4 separate regions of the Homo sapiens genome follow, and regions 2, 3 and 4 are each linked to region 1. The links are contacts of gene promoters, found by promoter capture Hi-C in human tissues and cell types (Jung and others, 2019). All regions are on one chromosome and are shown on one strand. Each heading gives the region's core, a stretch centred on a gene start or on the middle of the fragment in contact. The rest is flanking DNA. Distances are from core to core; before and after follow the strand shown.

Evidence for each region. Contacts are between HindIII fragments. The study calls those that stand out against the background at their distance.
Region 2: a contact is called between the fragment with the promoter of UQCRC1 here and the fragment with the promoter of WDR6 in region 1, in 1 of the 25 tissues and cell types used here (dorsolateral prefrontal cortex).
Region 3: a contact is called between a fragment that was not itself captured here and the fragment with the promoter of WDR6 in region 1, in 1 of the 25 tissues and cell types used here (dorsolateral prefrontal cortex).
Region 4: a contact is called between the fragment with the promoter of USP4 here and the fragment with the promoter of WDR6 in region 1, in 1 of the 25 tissues and cell types used here (dorsolateral prefrontal cortex).

The regions. Positions count from the first base shown.
Region 1 is chr3:49,001,747-49,008,707 of GRCh38, reverse strand. WDR6 (WD repeat domain 6) reads right to left here and starts at 1,317. Exons shown (of 6, transcript NM_018031.6): 1 at 1,177-1,317. The coding sequence starts at 1,276. P4HTM (prolyl 4-hydroxylase, transmembrane) reads right to left here. Exons shown (of 9, transcript NM_177939.3): 4 at 6,112-6,208; 5 at 4,448-4,610; 6 at 3,662-3,847; 7 at 2,841-2,931; 8 at 2,521-2,644; 9 at 1,555-2,021. The coding sequence ends at 1,801. RefSeq lists silencers at 643-822, 1,363-1,412 and an enhancer at 1,551-2,539. The HindIII fragment of the contact is 10,419 bases long and covers 1-3,043 here.
Region 2 is chr3:48,606,485-48,613,445 of GRCh38, reverse strand. It overlaps UQCRC1 (ubiquinol-cytochrome c reductase core protein 1), which reads left to right and starts at 3,800. Exons shown (of 13, transcript NM_003365.3): 1 at 3,800-3,894; 2 at 4,144-4,284. The coding sequence starts at 3,826. RefSeq lists enhancers at 3,410-3,519, 3,216-3,730, 3,810-3,909 and a silencer at 4,080-4,179. The HindIII fragment of the contact is 22,312 bases long and covers 1-6,961 here.
Region 3 is chr3:48,649,779-48,656,739 of GRCh38, reverse strand. It overlaps CELSR3 (cadherin EGF LAG seven-pass G-type receptor 3), which reads left to right. Exons shown (of 35, transcript NM_001407.3): 2 at 1-42; 3 at 375-600; 4 at 889-1,004; 5 at 1,346-1,434; 6 at 1,539-1,696; 7 at 2,288-2,451; 8 at 2,737-2,862; 9 at 2,952-3,121; 10 at 3,553-3,738; 11 at 4,187-4,303; 12 at 4,692-4,863; 13 at 5,022-5,163; 14 at 5,261-5,381; 15 at 5,665-5,848; 1 more. Among named protein-coding and RNA genes, the nearest start is that of MIR4793, 9.0 kb to the right of the region's middle. RefSeq lists a silencer at 212-441 and an enhancer at 1-526. The HindIII fragment of the contact is 6,463 bases long and covers 390-6,852 here.
Region 4 is chr3:49,336,329-49,343,289 of GRCh38, reverse strand. It overlaps USP4 (ubiquitin specific peptidase 4), which reads left to right and starts at 3,237. Exons shown (of 22, transcript NM_003363.4): 1 at 3,237-3,366. The coding sequence starts at 3,266. RefSeq lists enhancers at 2,617-2,676, 2,767-2,936, 2,567-3,066 and a silencer at 3,107-3,296. The HindIII fragment of the contact is 25,899 bases long and covers 1-6,961 here.

The DNA of each region.
Region 1 (6,961 bases), core at 68-2,567:
CTGAAACAATGTGGCCTCTGCTCGCTTGTCCAGCTTCCTTTCCTCCCAGACTCCATTCCTGCTCTAACTTCACAAGAATTCCCTCCTTCCCCCAAAATGACAGATTCTTCCAGCCTCAAGGCCTTTGGCATGCTTACCCTCTTGCCAGGAACTCACCCCTTTTCCTAGTTCACTCTTGTGGTTCTTTGAGTTTCTGCTTCGTTGTTCCCCCTCAAGGAGCCTTAGGAGTTTAGCTCGCGGTAGGAACTCCGCGCTCCAAGAACCCCCACACCAGATCAAAACTGGATCATCCCCACCCCATACACACACCCTCTTAGGACTGGTGGCAACTCACTCAAGGCCTGACCGCCAAGGCCCTGCCTCAGGACCCTTATACAACTCAGCAGCACCAACATGGGTCATTAGTGGCTTCATGTAATGACTGTTCGAGACCAGCCTGGACTCTGACACCTCAGGTCCCAGGCCTCGCCTGTCCTTTGCGACCCGGTTCTCCTTGGAGGGACCTCCACACCTGATTTCCTGGACCTCAACCATCTCAGGAGGGGGTCTCAGCCCCTGCTTCCCCGGGCACCGCCCCCTACTCGGAAAGGTCTTATCCGCCGTTTTCCGCGACGCCACCCTCCTCAGAGGATCTTCACCCCCACCTTAGGGGGAAGAGACTCATCCCGCCCTCGAGAGGCCACACCCTTGCCCTCTCCCGGCCCCGCCTTCCCCAAGAGGCCACACCCCCTGAGGGGCCGGGGCCGCCTCCGCCTCCTCCTCCTCCTCCTCCCTCCGCCCCCCCCAGCTCGGCCCCGTCTCCTTCGGAGAGGCCAAGCCCCCGCCCATCTCCTAGAAGGGAGCACACCCCCTCAACCCTCAGCTCCCGGGCCTCCGCCTCCGCCTCCGCGCGGCCGCGTTCCCCTGCACCCTCCCGCGGTTCCACCCGCCCTTTCCACGCGGGCTGAAGTTTATGAAGCGCCGCGGCGGCCACATCAGCTTTGTCTCTCGGGCCCCGCCCTCTTCAGGTTGGCCCTCGTCCCCGCCATCTCCGGGGCTCCCTTCCCACCTCCGATCGGCCTCAACCTGCTGCCCGTCCTTCTCCTCAGGGCACCCCTTTTGTCCCTGTGGCACCGCCCCTGGGAGGCGCTGTTTCTTTCCCCCTTTCCACCAGGCGTGCCTCAAGCCAAGCCTCACCCGCCAACAGCCGGTCCCCCACGCACTCCAGACCCGTCACTGGGAGGAGTATAAGCTCCGAGGTTGCCCGCGGCCAAACGTAGTCCTCGAGAGCGTCCATGTCGATCCTCGAGGTGCTGAGGCAGCCACGGCTAAGAAGGGAGCTGAACTCTCGCGAGAACGAGCCTTCCCAGCGCGCCGCGCTGCCCATCAACAGCGCCCTCAGCTACAGGTAGCAGAGACCAGGGCGCCCGCGGCGGTTGTCCAATGACGACCCTTCGTCCCACGCAATCCAGCTCATCATTGGCGGGGCCCGCGGAGGGGCATCCCGCCCCTCGCCCCCTCACGTGACGCTTGCGGGGCGCTCCCAGCTGCCAGCCCGCTGCACCTATCGCGGACTCTGTTTCGCCGACCCGGAGTTTGTCGGGCCCGGCGGCTCGAACCTTGTGGTTTTTTATTTGACGGGGCAGATGGAGTCAGTACACAATAAATAACATGAATATAGGAACTGCGCCGTATCGCGGCTGGCGGGGTGGGGCAAGACATTGGCCAGACCTTTAGTCTGCAGCAGGACAGAAGGACAGCCGGACCCCTGATCTTGGGCAACTGGCGACCCGCGGCTGGGAACCGGGGCTAACTCTTCCCTCAGAGTTCCACGCGCGCATCGCGGTAGGCCCGGTCCAGAGCCCACTCGGGCTGTGAGTCGGTGCCCCCTTCTCGGGCAAGGCGGGCCATCTCCTGTTGGAACAGCGCTTGCCGCGCTCGGCTGGGGTCCACATTAATCCAGTTGTTGGCAATCCACTTGGTGCCGCGCGTGACCAGGCAGCCCCCGTGCAGCGAGTAGTCGTCTACGTCACCCACCCAACCTAGAAGAGGAGGGTGACGTGAGATCCTAGGCTGGGCTGGCCAGAGCTTGGCCTCATAGGCACCAAGAGCATGACCAAGGTGGGTCCAGCTATGCATTCCTTGTGTAGCAAACACCCAGACCTAAAGCTTCCTTGGAGGCTCCTCATCTCAGCCCACTAATGTATAGTCAACACTACTGGCCCTCTGAAACCAGCTTTCTTGCTGTTGGGCCTGTCCATATCCCTTCCCATCCTGGGTTAGCAAGGGACATGTGTCCCAAGCCCCAGGGAGTAGGAAGGCTGGGGCATCAGGGAATGATAGGGATGGATATAACCCAATAAGCAGTACAGGTCCTGGGGCAGTCTGCTAAAGTCACTAAGGATGGCCTTTGGGAGGCACCAGGAGCAGAAAACTATTTGGAAAGCAGCCAGAAACAGCCCTCCATTGTGGCAGACGGGGGCTGGGTAAAGGGAAGCTGTACTCAGGGCACCCCCCCCAGGCCTGGCCATAGGCCCTCACCTTGCCCATCAGGCAGGTAGTTGTACCAGAAGACTGCTGTGCCCTGTTGGGGCTTGACACGCAGGTTTCCCTTGTCACAGTGCCTCCGTGTGTCACGGAGGTCCACGTCATCCTGAATCAGACTCTGTGGGCAGCAGGGTGGTGGGGTGTTCAACCTGTCCCCACTCTATGGCCAGGCCAGCCAAGGGTGACCAAAGGGAAACCAACCAGATATGCCCAAGGAATAATTTGGGCCCACATCCTTAGACCTGGAGAGGTGTGTACTTCACTTGTCTAAGCCCCTGCCAGCCCACAAGAGTAATAGCCCAGTTGACCCTTACCATTTCATCGTAGGTTCTGTTATCTGCTACAGGGAAAACAGTCTCGCCCCCACCAGTGACGTTGTTCAAATAAAACAGCACTGTCATGTAGCTGTAAGGCAGGGGGGGCACTGAGCAGGTCCCCAGTTGTGGATGCTCCCAGGGGCTTACCTGTGGGCAGGATAAGCTGCCCAGGTTCCTGTTGCCAGGGACCAGGACAGACTAGGATGGGAGACAATAGGGCAGGCCAGTGCCAAAATGTCCCTAGCCCCTCCTTCCCCGAAACCCAGTCTCTTACTGTGAGTTGCAATGGTTTTTTGGCCAAGATCACAGGTGCACTTAGTTAAATGCCATGGCCCTGAGCAAGGGCCTGGCAGGGAAAGGTAGGCTAGCAGAAGCAACAGGGCGCGCTGAAGGGCTCCTTGGGGATGGGAAGGGGCTGGGCCAGAACAGCCACCTGAAGAGGAAAGAACTGGCTTGACAGGGGAGGGAGGCACAGCTTCAGCTTCTCTAAGTGGAATCAAGATCAACACCTGGAGGAATGGGCAGGACAAGCTAGGGGCCCAGCCTTGCCCCTTGCTTCAGAACTCAGGGGGCAAGTTTTGGTGTCTGTGGGTACATCAGTCTGTGTTGACTCCAGTGGTCACGATGACCAGTAGCCACCCCTTTCCAGCCATTGGGTAAACAACTTGTGGGGAGAGGTGAGGGCATCACTAACCGGGATAACCCAGTGATCTCCTGGCCCCATGCCAAGGGGCACGCCCACAGTGCAGGGCTGTGCCTGTGTCATGGGTGTTCCTGGTCTGAGGATTGAAGGCAGCCCCCAGTTGGGAGATACTTGCCGGCAGGAGGTCTCGAAGGGTACAGACTCGTTGGCTACCAGCTTGGTATGGGAGCAGATGGTCTCTGGGTACACAGGCCCACTGTCCACGTGGGCATGGTAGTGGCCCCCCTCACCATATCGAACAACCTGCAGCGGCTCGCTGAGCTCCACGATCTCAGGCGACAGGCGAGTGAGGCGCAGCACCCTGGTGGGCAGCAGGCATTTGGCTGGGCAGCCCCAGGCAAGGTGGTGATCTGAAGGAGCTGGCCAAGGTGGACCCTAGGCCTGCCACAAGCTTTGCCCCTACCCACCTCCCCTGGAAGTCCCTTAAGCCATCTCAGACTGGCCCTGTAAGAGCAGGAGGGGGTTACTCATGATGATCCTTCTCCCTCAGATGCCAAAGACAGAGACACCTGCTATGTGGAAATGTTGACATTTCCACTAAATAAAGGGGGCGGGGAGTCCTGAGGTCCTCCTCCCTGGAAGAAAGTTGTTTATTTAAAAACCCTTTTCCTGCTGTGACGGGGTCAGATAAGGGGTCAAAGATAAGAGGTCATTTATCTAATCAGAAAGAAGTGCTCAATCTCTATCTAACCCCAGTTGCCCATTGTGTGCCTGCAAGGAGGGCTAATTTGCCTTTGTTAATTGCCTGTCTTTCAGTGGGTCCCAATCCTGGTCTAACAAATGGAACTTAATCCCAAATGGGTTAATCCATTCTGTCCTCTTGGCCCCAGACAAGGACTTCTGTGGAGGCCCTGCCCAGTCTTCTCCCCCTGCTCCAGTGAGAACAGCTTCAGGTGCTCACCTCTGGCGGATGGCACGCATGATGTGGTGGGCACCCTCACCCTGGTAGAGCCAGGTATGGTGGCTGTTCCGCACCAGCTCACTGGACTCTGCCTTGTGGCTCCTCATGTACTTGTGGAAGTCCCGAAGGTCCATGTTGGAGAACTCCTGCAGACTCAGCACTCCTGCACAGGGCACCCACCATCAATGCCCACCAAGCCCATATTGGGAGGCAACAGTGGCAGGCTGCACTTCCCTACCTACCCCAAAGGCAGCAGCAGCCCCTGACCTCAGGCACTGAGGGGCCTTGTACACTTGTCCCCCACCTGGACTTTTGGGTCAGATGAACCTGGTTTCTGTCACATCAGGCCTTACAGGAAGACCCAGAGCAGTTCCTTTTCTCAGTTTAAGCCCTAATTTGGCCCTAAGAAGAAAGAGGCCCACCCCCTATTAGAGTGGCCAGAGAAGGTTCTCCAAAGGAAGCTTGAGCCATATGGCCAGGACCCTGGCCTTCCAGCCTGGCTATATAGAGTGGTGGCCACTCTCCGGCCTGTGGAGGGTGAGGAGAGAGCAGGCAGTGCTGGGCCTCATCCAGGGCCTTACATACATACGCCAGGGTGCAAGCAGGGCCAGCCCCCGGGGAGTTCCTCATGACCCCAGGTTTCATCCTGGGTGGAACCTACTTCGCCAGCCCTGCCTACTGCGTTACCAGCCCACCTTAGCAACGAAAGTCAGGCCACCCCCTCTCATGAGAACATTCTCCACTGTCCCTGCTCAAACCATTAAGCAGGGGTTCTACCCTCTTGGGGTTCTGGAAGAGTAGTTGGTATCTTTGCTCCATGTTATTCTGGCTGACCCAAGGACATCACCTTCCACTCTTTGGCCCAGATTCCTCTGAGGGTGGGGGACATTCAAGGGCTGTGAGACTGTCACCACCTCTGTTCTGGGGCCTATAGCAGTGTGGCAGCCATCCAGCCACAGGTCACGGCCAGATTCTTCACTCTGGTTCACCAGCCGCAAAGCCACTGTTCCAAGTCCTTTCTAACTGCTGTATCTTCCTCTCTTGGTCCAGAATTTGGGCATGAGGGTGATGACCACACCTCAGAAACCTCCTGAGAGTTATTACCAGAGGGGGCACCACTTGCATGACAGCTTCCCTGCCCACCCCTCCCCAGCAGTTAGCACAGGTAGCAGCACTACCATTTTAGGCGCTTCGGCATGACTCCAGGTGGACAAGAGGAAGGCAAGGGAGATCTCACTTAGACCAGGGAAGCTGTCTGCTGGGGTGGACCTCGTGTCTGGCTGGAGAGATGGATGGAGCAGGGTAAACAGCCAAGCTCTAGCTGGCCTCACTGTCGCCTTGCTCCTGCTCCACCCACTCTGTTCTCTGCCAACTAGCAGCCCTACTTCCTGTCCCCAGGCTCTCAACTCTGCCTGATGTTATCAAAAGGGTCTCCAAGAACTGCCCTCGAGACCATCACCAAGGGGAACGGGGGGCCTGGCTGCCTGCCTACTTCCCAGGGGTAAAAAGCAAGGCTGGATCTTCACCTCCCCATCTCTGGCCACTATAAAGGGGTGCAGAGAGGCTGCCTGGCTGTGGGGGAAGGGCCCAAGTTTTCAAAATTGTGCACCTGGGAGTGGGCAGGAGGCTCACGGGGATAGGACTGTGCAGAGGTGTGAGCTCACCGTCACCATCAGGGTCAGCCTTGATCGCGGCGTACATCTCCTGAATGCTCTCTGGAGTCATCCACCATCCATTTCCCAGGCGAGTCTGGGCCAGAACCTAAAGCATAAGAGGGTCCCTCAGTGGGTGACCCCAGTGATGGAGAGCCAGCAGAGAACAGATGGCCCAGTGCTTGTTGTGGAGCAAAGTGTTCAGGTGAGGGCATGGATGAGGACACAGGGCAGAGCCCATTGGGCCAAAGTGAGTGCAGGTAGAAAGGTACAGAGCATCTGAGGAGAAGGCCGGGGGCTGGGGGTCAAGAGGCGTAGGCCATTTGCATTCCCGGACTAAGGCCCCGTGGCCTTCATGGAGAGCACTGTTGGTTGGAAGCAGAGTGAAGGACAGGCCTGTGTCCCACTCAGATACTCCGGGTGAGATGGGGAAAGCCAAGTCCTGGGTGTTAAGGGAGAACAGGCACCAGGGGGAGACCTGGTTAGGGCATGACCACCAGATCCCTCAGAAAGACCAGGCTCAGTGGGGTGTTCTGTGTGGGCAGTGCCCCGCACCACCACCCTGCCAGACTTCTCTCAGAAGCTTGGCCCTCCAGCCTGGCTGTAGAGTGTGTGAGAGTTATGCAGAGAGAGAGGCAGGCTGCTGGCCACCTCAGAGCTGCCACCCCATCCACCATGAGTTCTGTGGGGCCCCCAGCCATGAGAGCAAGGAATGCAGGCTACAGAGGTGCATCCCTCCAAAACTATGGTGATAAATGCCATCACCCCCAGGTGGATTCTCCTGCCATCTTCTGAGGTTCCCAGGGTAGCCAAGAGCTCTCCAGAGGGAAAGGGGACCTCCTGGGTCTGGGCATGCCCAGGC
Region 2 (6,961 bases), core at 2,551-5,050, 400 kb after region 1:
TTGGCAGATCACGAGGTCAAGAGATCGAGACCATCCTGGCCAACATGGTGAAATCCCATCTCTACTAAAACTACAAAAATTAGCTGGGTGTGGTGGCACATGCCTTAGTCCCAGCTACTTGGGAGCCTGAGGCAGGAGAATCGCTTGAACCCAGGAGGCGGATGTTGCAGTGAGCCAAGATCATGCCACTGCACTCCAGCCTGGCAACAGAGCGAGACTCCATCTCAAAAAAAAAAAAAAAAGAGATCACGTCCAGGGGCGGTGGCTCACATCTGTAGTCCCAGCACTTTGGGAGGCCAAGGCAGGAGGCTCACTTGAGCCTGGAGTTTGAGACCAGCCTGGGCCACATAGTGAAATCCTGTCTCTACAAAAAATATAAAAGTTAGCTGGGTATGATGGTGTGCACCTGTGTTCCCAGCTACTCAGGAGCCTGAGGTAGAAGGATCACTTGAGCCAGGGCATGGTGGCGTGTGGCGTCCCAGCTACTTGGAAGGCTGAGGCAGGAGAATTGCTTGAATCCAGGAGGCTGAGGTTGCAGTGAGCCAAGATCACGCCACTGCACTTCAGCCTGGGTGACAGAATGAGACTCTGTCAAAAATTAGCGATGTTGGCATGTGCCTGCAGTTCCAGCTACTCGGGAGGCCGAGGCAGGAGAATTGCTTGAACCTGGGAGATGGAGGTTGCAGTGAGCAGAGATCCTGCCACTGCACTCCAGCCTGGGTGACAGAATGAGACTCTGTCTCAAAAAAGAAAGAAAAAAATAGAGATCATAAGACTGAGAGAATGAACCCTTTGTAGCAATAAGATACCAAAGTATAAACAAGACATTAAGGCCATGCCAGGCAAGAGTTAAGCCGTTCACCAAAGAATAAACTATGTTCTAACTGCTGCAAGGTTTTTCTTTTTCTCCAGCAGCTAAACAAGCACTGGCCTTGAGATAAGCAATATAGAAACAATTGCAGTTCATCCATCACCAGACACTGACCCCACAAGCCATAACTATAGCTTTGATTGCACAAGAGATGGATTTTGGTGACTTTTTCCTAATAAGAGACCACTGACCAGGGACTGGCTTCAGTTGGTTTATGGAACCTGTGCACTGAGTGCTTTTGTATCCTTCATTTTGACATATGGTGCTAATTGTATTTCTTTTCTTTTTTTTTTTTTTTTTTGAGATGGAGTCTCCCTCTGTAGCCCAGGCTGGAGTGCAGTGGTGCGATCTTGGCTCACTGCAACCTCCGCTTCCCGGTTTCAAGTGATTCTCCTTCCTCACCCTCCTGAGTAGCTGGGACTACAGGCATACGCCACCACGCCCAGCTAATTTTTGTATTTTTAGTAGAGACGGGGTTTTACTGTGTTGGCCAGGATGGTCTTGATCTTCTGACCTCGTGAGCCACCCACCTCGGCTTCCCAAAGTGCTGAGATTATAGGCGTGAGCCACCGCACCCGGCCTGTAATGTATTTCAATGTTAAGTCTCCACCCCAAAGTGAACATGGGTCATATACAACACACATGTTTATTCAGTATACTTGCATTAGGACCCCCTTCATGAGTATCTATAGCTCTTCCTGTAACCTGTTGAATATGGTATTTTTTGTTTTTGTTTTTTCTTTTTTGAGACAGAGTCTCGCTCTGTCACCCAGGCTGGAGTGCAGTGGCGCGATCTCGGCTCACTGCAACCTCCGCCTCCCAGGTTCAAGCGATTCTTCTGCCTCAGCTTCCCGAGTAGCTGGGATTATAGGCACATGCCATCATGCCTGGCAGATTTTTTGTATTTTTAGTAGAGACGGGGTTTCACCATGTTAGCCAGGATGGTCTCAATCTCCTGACCTTGTGATCCGCCCACCTCGGCCTCCCAAAGTTTGGGATTACAGGTGTGAGCCACCGTGCCCGGCCGAATATGTATGTTTAGCCAAGCCATTCGACATAAAGCTCCTGCCTCTTTTTAAGGGTCTGTCTCTGGTTTTGACCAGAAGCCCACCTCCCAGCCTGCAGGTTGTAACCCTTTATAAGAAATAAAGTCAGCCTGGCACGGTGGCTCATGACTGTAATCCCAGCACTTTGGGAGGCTGAGGTAGGAGGATCACTTGAGCTCAGGAGTTTAAGATCAGCCTGGGCAACATAATGAGACCCCCGTCTCCACAAAAAATAAAAAAAAATTAGCTGGGTGTGGTGTGAGAGCCTGTGGTCATGGCATCTGGCATGATTTTTATAAAGATAGTTTTATTTTAAGTATAAGAGTAGTTTTTGGGTAAGGTGTGGTGGCTCACCCCTGTAATCCTAGCACTTTGGGAGGCTGAGGTGGGTGGATTGCTTGAGGCCAGGAGTTTGATATCAGCCTGGCCAACATGGTAAAAAATGCAATGATCCTAGCCCTTGCCTCTTCCTGTACTTAAGATACTGTCTGACAGGATTAATGATTATGCTTCTGTGACCTATAAACAGATGTACTCTTGCACCCAAACCTTGATGAGATTTATGCTCTAATGTAACTTCTGAGCACATTTGATGTAATTTCTGAGCACATGGAGAGCCGCCACCACCAGTGTATAAACTGTCGGAAACACTGCTTTGGAGCAGTCTAGCAGAAACTCCCTGAAAGGCTCTCCCGGGTTGCAATTCTTGGTAAGACTTCTGAATAGAACTAACTTTAAATATTTAAAAGCTTGTTTTTTTTTTTCTTTAGTTGACATAACAAAGCATACCTTAGAAGTCTTTTTTTTTTTTTTTTTTTTTTTTTGAGACGGAGTTTCGCTCTTGTTGCCCAGGCTGGAAATGGCGCGATCTCGGCTCACCGCAACCTCCGCCTCCCGGGTTCAAGTGATTCTCCTGCCTCAGCCTCTGGAGTAGCTAGGATTACAGGCATGCGCCACCACGCCCGTCTACTTTTGTATTTTTAGTAGAGACGGGGTTTCTCCATGTCGGTCAGGCTGGTCTCAAATTCCCGACCTCAGGTGATCCGCCCACCTCGGCCTTCCAAAGTGCTGGGATTACAGGCATGAGCCACTGCACCCAGCCAGAATTCTTTTTCCTCTTACAGAAAAGGAAAGGTTTCACCATGTTGGCCAGGCTGGTCTTGGACTCCTCGCCTCAAGTGATCCACCTGCCTCGGCCTCCCAAAGTGTTGGGATTACAGGAGTGAGCCACCGCTCCCGGCCTGTACTTAGTTCTTTTAAAGAGAAAACTGGCAGGGCGCAAAACTGGCCAACATGGAGAAACCTTGTCTCTTCTAAAGAAACAAAAATTACCGGGCATAATCCCAGCTACTCGGGAGGCTGAGGCAGGAGAATCGCTTGAAGCCGGGAGGCGGAGGTTGCAGTGAGCCGAGATCGCGCCATTGCACTCCAGCCTGGGCGACAGAGCGAGACCCTGTCTCAGAAAATAAAAAATAAATAAAGAGAAAAAAATACTGACTTTCAGCACCAACTTGTGGTCCCAGGTAAGTTTCCACGCTGGTACTTTAGCCCTGGGCTCGAACCTGCGGACACGCTGTGGCTGCAACTCCCCGCCCGCCAGACCTCAGTACGCAGCGCGGCTGGTGAGAAACATAATGCACTCTGACTTCCACGCGTGGAATGGGGAGATGGACTGCACGGCGGGCGGACCTGCTCGGGCTGATGGACGGCAGGTGGACTGATGTGCGCAGGGACTGGCGGCAGCGCGGTCAGAGCCAGTCAGCCAAAGCCAGGCCAGCACAATAGACTGTCCCGGTTCCCGCCAGGAGGCGGCCGAGCACCAACTGTACGGTACTGCGCCTGCGCCGCGACCGCCAACGCGCCCAGTCTACGCTTGCGCGGCGCAACAGGGCCGACTGCAGCTGGAAGATGGCGGCGTCCGTGGTCTGTCGGGCCGCTACCGCCGGGGCACAAGTGCTATTGCGCGCCCGCCGCTCGGTGAGGTGGTGGCGAGAGCGCGGGGCTTCGGGACAGGGCTTCGGGAAGCGGACAGGTGTGGGCTGTTAGCAGTGGCAGGTCGAGGTGGGGAGGACGCGGGGTCAGGGCCGTGGGAAGGTCACGGCGGAGGGCGGGGAAAGGTATCTCGCCGCTTGCCTAGGGGCGGGGTTCGGGGGTCCTCCTGAGGACCTGGGAGGTGGGGAGCGATCCCCTGACCGAGTCCTCACTCGCGGCTGTTCCCTTCCACAGCCGGCCCTGCTGCGGACGCCAGCCTTGCGGAGTACGGCAACCTTCGCTCAGGCGCTCCAGTTCGTGCCGGAGACGCAGGTTAGCCTGCTGGACAACGGCCTGCGTGTGGCCTCCGAGCAGTCCTCTCAGCCCACTTGCACGGTGAGTTGGGGACGCTTTTGGGGAGAGGGCCTCCAGGTTGGGCCTGCCGTCTTTTCCCTGGTTGGGGTGTGACCTTGGGCTCGAGTCTTCCCGTTTGTGGTTTGGGTTCGGACCCAGGACCACTCACCCCGAGAATGGCCCCATTCCCTACCCTAGCCACGCCTTGGCTTCACGGGACAATCTTCACTATAAGCCAACATTATTTAGCATATAATGCCCGTTAAGTAGGCGGCCAAATTCTTTTCCAGCCTTTTGTTAAGGAGCCCATATAAGGGAAGTGATCATGTCTCCTCTTATAATGCGGAAAATGGGATTCAGACACCTTAGGTGACTTGCAGGGGTCCAGGTCTGTCAGCCTCACTGCCCAAGGTCATAATCTCCAGGCTAGACCAGAAATACATTTTAGGAAGCAAATGCATTTTAACAGTACAATGAAATGTGTGATTTTCCAAAAAATACAAATTCTCTAAATTGACACAAGAAATCTTGAGTCACAGATAGATATATGAATAGGTGAGAAGATTCCCAAGAAATAATTATCTCCTCCTCCTTTCAGCCCCCAGCCCCAGGGCCAGATGTTTTTATTGACACATCCTTTTAGTTTTCCAGAAACAATGTCCTGCGATTTAAATTGTTACTAAGCATAGGAAAAGGTGGCCTGCAACTTCCTTGTTATATGTCACTTGTTATAGTAAAGAATGCTATATTACATGAACTCTAAAATGTGCTAGATTGTAAGGAGCTGTCTGTGCTCCAGTGCCAGAGAAAGAATCTCAAGAATCTTGCCAATTTTAATCAAAGGATACTATAGATTGTAAAATGCCTCTTGCATTCCAAGATGTTAGATGTGAAATACATGTTCATCTAAGATTGTGTGATATATGGTATATGCATTGACATCTCTTAGGAAAGCAAATATCACATGTTCTCACTTATCAGTGGGAGCTAAAAAATACGTACATACAGATGTAGAGAGTGGAATGATGGACAGTGAAGACTTGGAAGGATGAAGGGGTGGATGATGAGAAACTACTTAATGGGTCCAGGCCTGGAGGCTCACACCTGTAATCTCAGCACTTTGGGAGACCAAGGCAGGCGGATCAGCTGAGGCCAGGAGTTCAAGACCAGCCTGGCAAACATAGTGAAGCCCCATCTCTACTAAAAATACAAAAATTAGCCATGCATGGCACACGCCTGTAATCCCAGCTCCTGGGGAGACTGAGGCAAGAGAATCGCTTGAACCCGGGAGGCAGAGATTGCAGTGAGCCGAGATGGAGCCACTGCACTCCAGCCTGGGTGAGAGAGCGAGAGTCCATCTCAAAAAAAAAAAAAGAAATTACTTAATGGGTACAAGGTTTGTTATTCTGGTGATGGATAATTCAGAATCCCTGATTTGACTACTTGTGCATTCTGTGCCTGTAATGACATCACACTTGTGGGCGGGGCACAGTGGCTTACACCAGTAATTCCAGGGCTTTGAGAGGCCAAAGCAGGAGGATCGATTGAGCCCAGGAATAAGAGGTTGCAGTGAGCCATGATTATGTCACTGTACTCTGGCCTGGGTGACAGAGCAAGGCCCTCTGTCTTAAAAAAAAAAAAAAAGAAAAAAATGGAGTTTCAGGTGTGGATAGAAATTTCTAAAAATTGTGCTTGTACCCCATAAATTTATACAATAAAAAAAAGTCTTGGCTGGGCGCAGTGGCTCATGCCTATAATCCCAGCACTTTGGGAGACCGAGGCAGGCGGATCACGAGGTCAAGAGATTGAGACCATCCTGGCCAACATGGTGAAACCCCGCCTCTACTAAAAATACAAAAATTAGGCTAGACGCGGTGGCTCACGCCTGTAATCCCAGCACTTTGGGAGGCCGAGGCGGGCGAATCACAAGGTCAGGAGATTGAGACCATCCTGGCTAACACGGTGAAACCCCGTCTCTACTAAAAATACAAAAAATTAGCCGGGCGTGGTGGCGGGCGCCTGTAGTTCCAGCTACTCGGGAGGCTGAGGCAGGAGAATGCCATGAACCTGGGAGGCAGAGCTTGCAGTGAGCCAAGATCGCACCACTGCACTCCAGCCTGGGTGACAGAGCGAGACTCCGTCTCAAAAAAAAAACACACACACACAAAAAAACAAAAATTAGCTGGGCGTGGTGGTGCACGCCTGTAGTTCCAGCTACTCGGGAGGCTGAGGCGGGAGAATCACTTGAACCCAGGAAGCAGAGGTTGAGTGAGCCGACATCACACCACTGCACTCGTCTCGTGACAGAGTGAGACTCCATGTCAAAAAAAAAAAAAAGTACTTAGGAAAGTAGATGTGAAAAACTTAAATCAGCTGTGAACAAATAGTAAATTAAAAGACTAGACCGTGTGACCAAGTGGGGTGAGTGGTACGTGTTTCTTTTACATTTTTTTTTTTTTTTTGAGATGGAGTCTCTCTGTCACCCAGGCTGGAGTGCAGTGGCACGATCTTGGCTCACTACATCCTCTGCCTCTTGGGTTCAAGCAATTCTGCCTCAGCCTCCCAAGTAGCTAGGACTACAGGCACGTGCCACCACACCTGGCTAATTTTTGTATTTTTAGTAGAGACAGGGTTTCACTATATTGGCCAGGCTGGTCTCGAACTGCTGACCTCGTAATCCACCTGCCTTGGCCTCCCAAAGTGCTGGGATTACAGGTAT
Region 3 (6,961 bases), core at 2,372-4,871, 350 kb after region 1:
GCGAGGGAGGCTACACGTGCGTCTGCCGCCCGCGCTTCACCGGTGAGCAGGGCGCCGGGCCAGAGCTGGGGGAAGCACGGGCCAAGGCTGGGGGCGGGACCACAATGCGAGTGAGTACTGGGAGTCACTTCTGAGGCCACGGCCTGGTATGGACGCGCTTAGGCCAGAAGCCGTAGAGCGTGGCCGGAAGGGGCCGCCGCCGAGGCAGCGATGAGACTGGGGAGGGGGCGGGGCCAGACGGAAGGGGCGTGTCCACCGAAGAGGGCGACCTTTCGGGGGTCTTGGCACCCGGCCTCTGGGCGCGCGGTCTTTGAAGGGGCCGGAGCAGGGGCGGGCGTGGGCGTGACCGCCTCTGACCGCGGCTTGGCCCCCAGGAGAGGACTGCGAGCTGGACACCGAGGCCGGCCGCTGCGTGCCGGGCGTCTGCCGCAACGGGGGCACCTGCACCGACGCGCCCAACGGCGGCTTTCGCTGCCAGTGCCCGGCAGGCGGCGCCTTCGAGGGCCCGCGCTGCGAGGTGGCTGCGCGCTCCTTCCCGCCCAGTTCGTTCGTCATGTTTCGCGGCCTGCGGCAGCGATTCCACCTTACGCTGTCCCTCTCGTAGGTGCCCGCCCCGTGTCTGAGCGCCTCCCCGCCGCCCCCACCTACCCGCCCTGACTCAGATTCCTGACTGCCCCGTCCTGGCATCCCCATGAGACACCGCCCCTCCCCTGACGCCCCGCCCGGGGTCTCCTGACCTCGCTGCACCCGCGTCCCCCCGGTCGGTCCCGCCGTCCCTCGTCGCTTCCTCTCTCGCCCCAGCCCCTTCTCCTCGCAGGGATGGTGGGTGTGAAGTGGTACCCTGCTCCTGACGCTCCCACCCCCGCAACCCCCTCCCACCCCGCCCAGGTTCGCGACAGTGCAGCAGAGCGGGCTGCTCTTCTACAACGGGCGCCTGAACGAGAAGCACGACTTCCTGGCCCTGGAACTCGTGGCTGGCCAAGTGCGGCTCACATATTCCACGGGTGGGTGCCCCGGATGTGACGGCGAAAGGGTGCGTGTGTGCTGGAGGACGCAGGGCCCAAGTCCCCTCAGGTTTGCTTCACTGTGCACCTGAGCACACACTCCACGCCATGCAAGCCCTGAAGACCTAGCTCCTTGGCCATTCCCTGTGGGAAGGTCCCTCCCTCCAAGAAGTCTGTTTCTCCTGTCTGTTCAAAGGCACTCTGAGCCAGCCATTGTGGTCACCAGTGGGGGGACTGATCTGATGCATCCAGGGTGGCCCTGGGAATGGTTGTGCTTATATGACGGGTGGGATGGGGCGACTCCGCTGCTCCTGATGATTCCACATGCATCTCCCCTCCAGGTGAATCCAACACCGTGGTCAGCCCCACAGTTCCAGGGGGCTTGAGTGACGGGCAATGGCATACAGTGCATCTGAGATACTACAACAAGGTGGGGGCCATCCCTGGCATCGGGTATGAGGGGAGTTGGGATGCTGACTTCTGCTCCTCAGGGGTTACTGGGGGCACTGTTGACTGGTGTGCCTGCGTCTTCAGCCCCGGACAGATGCCCTAGGGGGTGCACAGGGCCCCTCCAAGGACAAGGTGGCTGTGCTAAGCGTGGATGATTGTGATGTGGCCGTGGCTCTGCAGTTTGGTGCTGAGATTGGCAACTACTCATGCGCGGCTGCTGGTGTGCAAACAAGCTCCAAGAAGTGAGGCCCCTGCCCCCTAGTCCCCTTGTCCCCTGCCTACCAAAGCCCACTCCAACCCTTCACATCCCATTCCTCATCCCATCCTGCCAAACTCTCCCATCTTTCCCCCAAACCACCAAGATTCCCCTCTCCTCTCAAAGACCCTGAAAGCCTACTCACCCTAGCCCCCAATCCTGTATTCCACCCCATACTCCCTCCTCCCACACACAGTCCCCAGGCAGTCCTCCAAAGCCTCCACCTCCCCACCCCAGTCTCACTAATGTCCCACATCCCCTCCGAGTCCCTTCATCTCATGTCCAGTCCCCCAGAGTCTTCACGTCTCCATCCCCTCCCCAGCCAGCCAGATGCCTCATTCTTTCATCATAGCTCTCAACCCCCATTCACCTACCTTTCCCCAGACCATCGGCCCATCACGGGTGCCCCTTTGCACCCCAACTGAAGTAAGATCCTAACTCCTTCCACAGCTCGGCCTTATTTTCCTCCCTCAATCACCCTACCCTCTGGGTCCTACCCCCCTGCTTCCTGTGGCCCCCCAGGAGCAACTCTACTCTGGCCCCAGTCCCACCAATGACCCAGACCCCTGATCCCCAGGTCCCTGGACCTGACGGGCCCTCTTCTTCTGGGAGGTGTCCCCAACCTCCCCGAGAACTTCCCCGTATCCCATAAGGACTTCATCGGCTGTATGCGGGACCTGCACATTGATGGCCGCCGAGTGGACATGGCGGCTTTTGTCGCAAATAATGGCACCATGGCAGGTAGGCCTGAAGCTTCCACCAGCCTAGCCCATGGCCCTGTCCCCATCATAGGGAGGAAGTGGAGGACTCCATACCTGACTTCAAGCCAGTCTCCTTTGGTGGCAAGCACCATGCTACAGCCCAGATTTTAGGGCCTGACTCTTACCAACCCCACTCATCGAAAGAAAATGGGAAATGGGGCTGAGATCTTGGTCTCTTTCAGCCCCTCTGGACACTAAAGTCCTGTCCAGCACTTGTGCCCCCCAACCCTTGTTCTCATGTCCGCCATGTGCTTTCCTCTCCCAGGCTGCCAAGCCAAGCTACACTTTTGTGACTCAGGCCCCTGCAAGAACAGTGGCTTCTGCTCGGAGCGCTGGGGCAGCTTCAGCTGCGACTGCCCTGTGGGCTTCGGCGGCAAAGACTGTCAGCTTAGTAAGTGGGCAGCATGGGGCAGAGGGGCCTGCAGGGTCAGATCTGTTCCTGGGGCAGGGGCTGTAACCCTGTTTCTCTTATCCACTCAGCTATGGCCCATCCCCACCATTTCCGTGGCAACGGCACACTGAGCTGGAACTTTGGAAGTGACATGGCTGTGTCTGTGCCATGGTACCTGGGGCTGGCATTTCGGACACGGGCAACGCAGGGGGTCCTGATGCAAGTGCAGGCTGGGCCACACAGCACGCTCCTTTGCCAGGTGTGTCCACCCTGCTCACCCCTATACCCTCAGTTCTCAGTCTCTTAGGCCGCCACTGACATTCTTGTGGGTTCAGGTTGGTCACACAGCATACTTTTCTGCCAGGTGTCCCAACCACACTTGACCCTGCTCTGGACCCTAGCCCTTGATTCTCTTTCCATCATTATATCCTCTGCAGGTGCAGGGCTCCAGCATAGCTCTCTCTTATGCAAGCTGCACCAACCCACCCACAACACCTGGTCCTATCCTCTGCCCCCTGACCCCATATCAGCAACATGATGTCCCCTGGCACAGTGCCCTTTGTGCCAGGTATAACCTTGACCCCACTGTTCTGACCTCTGATATTCCTGACCTCTGAGCCCTCTGATCTCACCTCCAAGTCCCAGCCCACATGGGGCTCTAACCCCAGGGCTATGCATCTCTGCCCACAGCTAGATCGGGGGTTACTGTCTGTGACAGTGACCAGGGGCTCGGGCCGTGCTTCCCATCTCCTTCTGGACCAGGTGACTGTCAGTGATGGCCGGTGGCACGATCTGCGGCTGGAGTTGCAGGAGGAACCAGGTGGCCGGCGGGGCCACCATGTCCTTATGGTCTCACTGGACTTTAGCCTCTTCCAGGTCTGGCCTCTGACCCCGGGGTAGTCTGTTCTCAGCCTTCCAACCAGATCCGCCTTATTTGACCCCACCTCTAGTCCAGCTCCTCTCAGTTCCCTCCACTGCACTGAGTCTGATGTTCTACCCCTAGTTCCCCACCATATATCCTTGCACTGAGCCCACCCACCAGCCAAGTTGGTCCACTCTCAAGCCCTCTTTGTGCCAGATTTGGGGCCTGGTCTTGGGGAACCTCTGTAGCCAGCACTTTGCCTGATTCCTAGAAGCCCCTTCTAGTCTCTGCCCCAGTCTCTACCCACCCCCGGTCAAAATCAAGCAATATTAAGGTCTACTGTGGGTCCAGGAGGGAGGGGGCAGCCTAGAAGGGCTAGAAGAAGGCCAAGACTGACTCTGGGCTATGACAGGGGTTCATCAGGCCCCTCTCCCTCAGTGCTGACTGCCCCACTTCCTCCAGGACACCATGGCGGTGGGGAGTGAGCTGCAGGGCCTGAAGGTAAAGCAGCTCCACGTGGGAGGCCTGCCCCCCGGCAGTGCAGAGGAGGCTCCTCAGGGTCTGGTTGGCTGCATCCAGGTGGGGGTCAGCATGGGAATGTGATATGGGGCATTAGGGTCAGGGGTCAGAAGTCAGGGGCTCCTTGGGACCTGAAAGGCAGTATTCAAGTGGGGGTTGGTGCGAGGGGGTGAATGACCCAGAGTTGAGAGCTAGGTCAAGCCTTTCTGTGGCATTGGAGGTGGGAGTCTAGCTTGGATTATCAAGGGCCTTTAGGAATCTGTGTCAGAAACAGCACAATTAGGGTCCCACAGGGGTACCAAATTGGGGATATTTTTGAGGCCTGGGTTTTTTGAGGGTATCAGAAGACTGCATGTCAAGGATCATCAGACCGGGTGGCTGGCTCTGCAGTACTTGAGGCTGAGGTGCCTTAACATGGTCTCACCCCTTGCTGGCTGTGTGTCCACAGGGGGTGTGGCTCGGCTCCACACCCTCTGGCTCCCCGGCCCTGCTACCCCCCAGCCACCGAGTGAATGCGGAGCCTGGCTGTGTTGTGACCAACGCCTGTGCCTCTGGGCCCTGCCCACCTCACGCAGACTGCCGGGACCTCTGGCAGACCTTTTCTTGCACCTGCCAGCCAGGTGAGCCTTGAGAGGGTTGGGGGAAGGGTGACCTGGGCAGGCGTTAGGGGCCCATGATGAAGACTGGGGAACCTGAAGGAGGCAGGGACTCGGGACGGGTGCCTGCTTCCTTCCATGCTCTGCGACCAGGATCCTGAGCTTTCTGACCCAATCTGCAGGTTACTACGGCCCAGGCTGTGTGGATGCCTGCCTCCTGAACCCCTGTCAGAACCAGGGATCATGCCGGCACCTGCCAGGAGCCCCCCATGGCTATACCTGTGACTGTGTGGGTGGCTATTTCGGGCACCACTGTGAGCACAGGTAAGAGGCTGGGGCTGAGGCGATGGGGAGACCTGGCAGGGACAGGGAGGGTCACTGGGATACCGTGGAGGCATCTTACCTGGCTCTGCACCCCCAGGATGGACCAGCAGTGCCCACGGGGCTGGTGGGGGAGCCCAACCTGTGGCCCCTGCAACTGTGATGTTCACAAAGGTTTTGATCCCAACTGCAACAAGACAAATGGGCAGTGTCACTGCAAGGTGCGCCTGGCCCCTGACCTTTTAACCCTTCCTTGGACGCAATCTGCAATTCCTGTCCAGCTTGCTGACCTCCGCCACCTGACTTGGGCCCTAACCTCTTGCCTGTGTCCTGTGACCAAGTTGCTGTCTCTCATCCTTTACCCGTGACCCCTCCCTTGGCTTCACGCATGACCCAGGTGTCCTCTGGCCCATGAGCACTGTTCTCTTGACCCTTTATCCTTGATTCCACTCATTCCCCAAGCCCTGACCTCTGACTTCAGGCCCCTGGCCCATCCTCAAACAGGAGTTCCACTACCGACCGCGGGGCAGTGACTCTTGCCTCCCATGTGACTGCTACCCTGTGGGCTCCACCTCGCGCTCATGTGCACCCCACAGCGGGCAGTGCCCCTGTCGCCCAGGAGCCCTTGGCCGCCAGTGCAACAGCTGTGACAGTCCCTTCGCAGAGGTGACAGCCAGCGGCTGCCGGGGTGAGCAGGCTCCACCCAGCTCCACCCATAGAGGGCTGGTTCCAGTGTGCCACCATCACGTGTCAGTGGCACACATGGCTCCTTGGGGACTCTGGAAGCTTCTCCTGAGGGAGACCACTTACACCCAGGGAACCCTACCTTTGCCCCAAGTACTTTGCTGACCTGTCACAGAATCTGACAGGTCAGCTCCTGAGAAGCCAGCAGGAGTGGCGGGCAGTGGGCCTTGTGGGGGGTGGTGGAGGGGCAGTGGGTGTGGCTGTCAACTGCCCTGTACCCTGACTGCCTGGCTCAGCACCTCTTCTCTCTCTAGTGCTCTATGATGCCTGCCCTAAGTCCCTGAGATCTGGTGTGTGGTGGCCCCAGACAAAGTTTGGCGTCCTGGCCACAGTGCCCTGTCCCCGGGGGGCCCTGGGTGAGTATGTGGGGGGAAAGGACATCACTGAGGGTGGGGGTGGGCCTGTACTCTGACTGCTAGAGCCATGTCTTTTCCTAAATTGGGTGGCTTTGTTCCTGCAAAGAGGTGGAAGTGGGGTGGGAGTCCATGTGGGCCCCTCCCTACACCCTCATTGAGCCTCCATCTGTTTCTCTTGGCTTCTGGGCAGGATTGCGGGGTGCAGGTAAGGGGTACGTGTTTGCTCAGGTGCACTGCCCCCTCCCACTACCAGAGCTTTTGCAGACCCCTCCTGCTGCCTGAGGTCCCTGCAGACCCCTCCCTGCTGCCTAAAGTCCCTGCAGGCCCCTTCTGGCTATCTGAGTACCCCAGGGGCCCTTCTCTGATGCCTGAGATCCTCAGAGACCCCTCCCCATTGCCTGAGGACCCTGCTGACCCCTTCTCAGTTCCTGGGGTCCCCATAGAACTTTCCCCACTGCCTGAGGTCACGAAAGATCCCTCCTCAGTCTGAGGACCCTATAGCTCCTTCCTGCTGCTTGGGGGCCCCTCCCCACTGCCTGAGGTCCCCTCAGAACACTCCCTGCTGCTTGAGGTCTCTGCAGTGGCTGGACAGAGATTGTTTGTGTACGCATGCTCACGTGTGTATCTCTGTGCCTGTGCACGTGTCTGTGAACCTGTTGCGGGGAGGGGATTCTGTGATTAAGTTAGGCTCTCTCTTGTTG
Region 4 (6,961 bases), core at 1,988-4,487, 330 kb before region 1:
TTGACTCACTGCTACCTCCATCTCCCAGTTTCAAGTGATTCTCCTACCTTAGCCTCCTGAGTAGCTGGGATTACAGGTGCTCGCCACCATGCCCAATTAATTTTTGCATTTTTAGTAGAGACAGGGTTTCACCACATTGGCCAGGCTGGTCTCGAACTCCTGACCTCAGGCGATCCGCCTGCCTTGGCTTTCCAAAGCCAAAGTGCTGGGATTACAGGCGTGAGCCACCACGCCTGGCCTCAACTTTCTTTTTCCATAAATAACAGGACTAAAGGTAGTGTTTCTTTTTTGATAACATTTTTAAGAGTTTCAGCCGGGCACGGTGCCTCACACCTTTAATCCCAGCACTTTGGGAGGCTGAGGCCAGTGGATCATGAGGTCAGGAGTTTGAGACCAGCCTGCCCAACATGGTGAAACCCCATCTCTACTAAAAATACAAAAATTAGCCAGGCGTGGTGGCGCACACCTGTAATTCTAGCTACTCAGGAGGCTGAGGCAGGAGAATCGCTTGATCCAGGGAGGCAGAGGTTGCAGTGAGCTGAGATTGCCCCACTGCACTCCAGCCTGGGGGACCCAGCAAGACTCCATCTCAGAAAAAACAACAAAACAAAACAAAACAAAAACGAGTTTCAAAGAACTTTCATAGAAGGGGACTTGTTAGGGTTGGCTCTGCAGATGTAGAATCATCATGTGGTGGTGGTAACTCTTATCTACAGGGGATTAATTACTATGTGGTTATTTAAGGCAGTTTTAATTCCATATTTACTTTCTCCTACTATCTACCCAATTGCCAAGAGGCCTTTCTTATCAGATGGTGTGTGATGGATGACCCAGGGAGTGCAAATTAATTTCAATTGGCCAAACCCAACATAAAAATAGTAAATCTGTTCAAATGACCTACCGTATTTTCACTGGGCCAGTTCCCCTTCCTTCACCCCCGACACAAAACATAGCTCATCTTTTCAACAGGAATAGGTAGAAAAATAAGAATAATAAAATAAAATAGACATGGCTTCTCTGTTTCTCCTCTTCTCCCTCACAGCCACCTCCATAGTGAGAGGTTCCTAATGGTTCTGTGTCTGAGTTACACCACCGTGGGCGTGAAGCACCCTCAGCCATTTTGTCTCTGCTTCAAAACTTCCTATAATGCCTGCCTGCCTTTTAAGGCAGGATATATGGTCTGTCTGGCCTCCTTTCTAGCTTTAGATCCCCTTAGGCTGTTGTAGCGTTGTAGTGCCCGCCTCAACTGGCCTAATCCCCACTCTCTGATCCTGTCCTGCCTTTTCCAGAAATTATCTTCTGGTCCCTTGAGTCTCCCCTCCTGTAACATGCATCCTCATCTTTATTCTGCCAGCATTTTTTTTCAATACCACACTCAAATGTTACTCAAGTCAAAGGCTTCCTATGAGAGCAGGGGTTGTGCCTGGCGTTCTACAGCCTTTGGTTCACACCCCCTTTTTTTTTTAGAGGGGGTCTTGCTCTGTTGCCCAGGCTGGAGTGCAGTGGCGCAATCTCGGCTCACTGCAACCTCTGCCTCCCAGGTTCAAGCGATTCTTCTGCCTTAGCCTCCCGAGTAGCTGAGACTAGGTGTGGGCCACCACTAACGGCTAATTTTTTTTTTTTTTTTTGTATTTTTAGTAGAGAAGGGGTTTCACCATATTAGCCACGCTGGTCTCGAACTCCTAACCTCGTGATCTGCCCGCCTCGGCCTCCCAAAGTCCTAGGATTACAAACATGAACCACCGCGCCGGACGCCCGGTCTTTTTTTTTTTTTTTTTTTAAGACATTTCGGTCTCCACGTTGGTCAGGCTGGTCTCGAATGCCCGACCTCAGGTGATCCTCCTGCCTCGGCCTCCCAAAGTGCTGGGATTACAGGTGTGAGCCACCGCGCCCGGCCGGTTCACACCCTTTATTTGTATTTATTTTTTTTTTTTTGAGACAGGGTCTCACTTTGCCGTCCAGTCTCAAGTGCAGTGGCGCCATCTCGACTCACTGCAACCTCGACCTCCTGGGCTCAAGGGATCTTCCTACCTCAGCCTCCCAAGTACCTGGGACCACAGACGCGAGCCACTGCCCGGCTATTTTTTGTATTTTTTTGTAGAGACGGGATTTCGCTATGTTGCCGAGGTTGGTCTCTAACTCCTGGGCTGAACCTATCCTTCCGCCTCAGCCTCCCAAAGTGCTGGGACGACAGGCTTGAACCACCGCGCCCGGCCTGGTTCACACACTTTAATGGCACTTACCACATACTGCTAGGCATTGAGGTTATTTCTGTAACATCTCTTCTTTTCTACTAGATTCTATGAGGGCAGGAACTAGGTCTTATTTTTCTCTGAGGACAAGGACTGTTAGACAAGTGTATGGAGACGCATCTAGACCAACTGCCTGACTTCCTCTTTCCTCTGGGTTTACTTCTCCCTCCAAGAGGAGGGTTGTGTGTGTGAGCGGGGCGACTGGAAAACATAGTGTTCAGGACGTTGTATCTTGTTCCAGGAACTAAGTACACGCCTGGGTAACTAATGTGGAGTACCTCTCCTTCCCCTGTTGCTATCGCCCCTCTGTGGCTGCTTGGCAAGTAGCTCAGTATGAAGAGCTGACGGAATTCTGCGGTGGGCCAGGTGGCTCTGGCGTCGACTGTTTAAGGCGACTGTTAATGACTACAACACACCATTGAGTCTTGGTCCCAAGGCGCTGGTGCACATGGTACTTCCCGAAATCCCTGTAGGGCCGCTGGAGCAGGAGCCCCGATCCCACGTTTGGGCAGCTGACTCGCCTAAGGCCTCCAGCTGAAAGCGGAATTGCAGGGGTGAGAATGAGCAGACCTAACTACCGGGCTTCTCGCACCTGGCCTGCATTTATTTAGGACCACGATAACCTCGAAGGCCAGGCTGGGGTGCCCGATGGGTCGTGGGCTTGCTGCCTAACTCCCTGAGATCGGCGGGCTGAACAGAGCTTCGAAGTGTAGCGCCATCCTGAGCAGAGGAAGGGGCGCCCGAAGGCCGCGTAGCGGGCGGCAGGGCGGGAGGAAGTAGCAGCTGCTGCTCCCCGCCCACCCCTCTCGCGTGTGCCTTTCCGCTCCACTGTTCGCCGGTGAGCTAGGTGGCGCGAGAGCGGAGGGGAGAAAAGACAGCGGCTGCAGGAGCCGAAGGCCGCGGCTCGAGGTGGGGCAGGGGCGGGCACGCGAGCGTGCGTGCGTGGGCGCGGTCTATAGCACGCCGCGCGCGGGGCGGATGTCCGGGCCGGCTGGGCCGGGGCCGCGGAGGAGATGGCGGAAGGTGGAGGCTGCCGTGAGCGACCGGATGCGGAGACTCAGAAGTCCGAGCTTGGACCCTTAATGAGGACCACACTCCAACGCGGGGCGCAGTGGTGAGCTCCCGGCTCGCTCTTCCTCTATGCAGAACCAGGGGCCGAGAAAAAGGGGCCTCCTTTTTCTCGGCTAGAGTAGGGGCTGGGCGGGGATGGTATGTAGTGACCCTGGAAGAGTAGCCTGACACCTGCCCCTCAGGAGAATAACTCCAGGATCAGCTCTGGGAAAGCGCAGGCGGGGCCTGAGTGTCGTCTCAGTTCATTTGGAGCCCTAGGGGGCGGGCCCGGCGGGGGCCAGGAGGAGGGATGTGGAGAAGGGGAAGGTTGGTGGGGACCCTAAGGGTGGGGAGAGCCCTTTACCATGAGGACTCGCCGTGTGACCTTGGGCGAAGGTGTCACAGACCTGGATTCCTCACTGTTAAAACCAGGATAGCAATATTTGGCTCACCGACCTCAGTGGGTTGAGGGGAAAATCAGAAGTAGATACTTTGTAACTTGTAAACTGCCAACAGATGTCAAGGTCAGAAGCTGAACAAATGTCTGAGAACCCCGATTATTTTGGTAGCAAGTGTCAAAAATATTTGCGGCAGCAGTGTCTTGGAGTGGGAGAGGAGGATAGCCTAGGTCCTGGAGCTAGATAGAAGATGAAGGGTCCAGAATTTAGAAGACCCAGGCTGAGTTATTAGGCATCTTAATAGATTGTTTAGTAGAGGGGACAATACTTTGTACTACTGGAGAGATTCCTGGGTGGTGTAATTGTGTAGGAGTAGAAAAACTAAGGCTAGACTTTGCATCGAGTATGATTGTTACCCATCTTGTTTGTTTTGTTTTGTTTTGAGATGGAGTTTCACTCTTGTTGCCCAAGCTGGAGTGCAGTGGCGTGATCTTGGCTCACGGCAACCTCCGCCTCCCGGGTTCAAGCGATTCTCCTGCCTCAGCCTCCCGAGTAGCTGGGATTACAGGCTCACGCCACCACACCCAGCTAATTTTTTGTATTTTTAGTAGAGACCGGGTTTCACCATGTTGGGTAGGCTGGTCTCAAACTCTTGACCTTATGATCCACCCGCCTCGGCCTCCCAAAGTGCTGGGATTACAGGTGGGAGCCACCGTGCTCGGCCCGAGTGTTACCTATCTTTAAGAAATCATTGTGGTGATGATCTGCCGAGGAATTGAGCAGGAGAATAGAAAAATTGGGGTTAGGAGGAGTACAGATAACAGCTTATGTATTCACCTTGAGCTAACCAGTTTGTGAAAGGCAGGGTAAACAGAGGTACTTTTTTTGTGTTTTCTTTTCTTTTCTTTTCTTTTTTTTTTTTTTTTTGAGAAGGAATTTCGCTCTTGTTGCCCATGCTGGAGGGCAATGGCGCGATCTCGGGTCACGGCAACCTCCCCCTCCCATGTTCAAGCGATTCTCCTGCCTCAGCCTCCCCAGTAGCTAGGATTACAGGCATGCGCCACCACGGCCGGCTAATTTTTTTTGTATTTTTAGTAGAGACGGGGTTTCTCCATTTTGGTCAGGCTGGTCTCGAATTCCAGATCTCAGGTGATCGCCCGCTGTGGCCTCCCAAAGTGCTGGGATTACAGGCGGAAGCTACTGCGCCCGGCCTAGCAGAGGTACTTTTTAAGTTAACCTCTATAGGGTTCATAAAGAATACTCAGCAGAAGTAGAGGAAGTTTAAGATAGACTAAAATCATACAGTAAAATTGTATGGAAGGTATTGCTCAAGGGATTTGGAAGAAAAATAGCATTTTAGAGATGGATGTGTTTATGGATCCTTGTGACCTCTGGGAAGCTGCCTGACCTCCTCTCACATTTGTTGGTTATAAAATTTTAAGGATGCACCAATATAATTGTTGATGCTTTGTTGCTCCACAGAGATTGTTTTAATTGTAAAACAGCATAGAGATACTTTTTTTTTTTTTTTTTTTTTTTTTTTTTGAGACGAAGTCTCGCTGCATCACCAGGCTGGAGTGCAGTGGCGCGATCTCGGCTCACTGCAATCTCTGCCTCCCGGGTTCAAGCGATTCTCCTGCTTCAGCCTCCCGAGTAGCTGGGATTATAGGCATGCACCACCATGCCCCGCTAATGTTTGTATTTTTAGTAGAGACAGGGTTTCACCATGTTGGCCAGGATGGTCTCGATCTCCTGACCTCGTGATCCACCTGACTCAGCCTCCCAAAGTGCTGGGATTACAGGCGTGAGCCACCGCTCCCGGCCAGCACAGTGATACTTTAAAAATATAAACAGGTCTGGTGCAGTGGCTCATGCCTGTAATCCCAGCACTTTGGGAAGCTGAGGCAGGAGGATCACTTGAGGCCAGGAGTTCAAGACCAGCCTGGGCAACATAGCAAGAGCTAGCCTCTACAAAATAAAAATAAAAAAATAAATTAGCCAGGCATGGTGGTATGTGCCTATAGTCACAGCTACTCAGAGGCTGAGGCAGGAGGATCACTTGAGCCCAGGAGTTTGAGGCTACAGAGAGCTATGATTGTGCCACTGCACTCTAGCCTGGGTGACCCTCTCTCTAAGGAAATAAATAGGTAAATAAAATACCACATTTGCTTACATTTAAGTAAAAAAGTGGTAAGTTGAATATGAAGCACAAATTAATGCTTTTTGACAAGATGAACAATAGGCACTATTATATGTACATGTGTATGTGTATATTTATATATGTACACGCATGTTATGTACTTTTTTTTTTTTGACAGGGTTTTATTCCTGTCACCCAGGCTAGAGTGCAATGGCATGATCTCAGCTCACTGCAACTTCTGTCTTCCGGGTGCAAGTGATTCTTGTGCCTCAGCCTCCCGAGCAGCTGGGACTACAGGCATGTGCCACCACGCTCAGCTAATTTTTGTAATTTTAGTAGAGATGGGGTTTGTTGCCCAGGCTGGTCTTGAACTCCTGAGCTCAAGTGACCATCCACCTCGGCCTCTCAAAGTGCTGGGATTACAGGTGTGAGCCACTGCGCCTGGCCTTGTGTGTACATTTTTGGAACTCCTTTGGTCCTTAAAGGAAAACTGAAGTGGGTGGTGTTTCTAACCCATTTTCAGAAAGAGCATTAGTTTAGTGCTGTTCATGTCAAGCAAAACAGTGTAACCAAACTGTCTGCCTGGAGTGGGACTTCTGTAAAGATCATTATGAAATTAATGACTTGTGGCCGGGTGCGGTGGCTCACGCCTGTAATCACAGCACTTTGGGAGGCCGAGGTGGGCAGATTACCTGAGGTAGGGAGTTTGAGACTGTCCTGACCAACATGGAGAAACCCTGTCTCTACTAAAAATACAAAATTAGCCAGGTGTGGTGGCACACACCTGTAATCCCAGCTACGGGAGACTGAGGCAGGAGAATCACTTGAACCCGGGAGGCGGAGGTTGCGGAGAGCCGAGATCACACCATTGCACTCCAGCCTGGGTAACAAGAGCGAAACTCTGTCTCAAAAAAAAAAGAAGTTAATGACTTGTTTATTAGCAAACATGATTTTACCCATGAAAAGACTCCATTTAGACTGAGTGTGGTAGCTCATGCATGTAATCACAGCACTTTGGGAGGCCAAGGCAGGAGGATCACCTGAGATCAGGAGTTCGAGACCAGCCTGGCCAACATGGTGAAACTCCATCTCTACTAAAAATACAAAAAAATTAGCTGGGC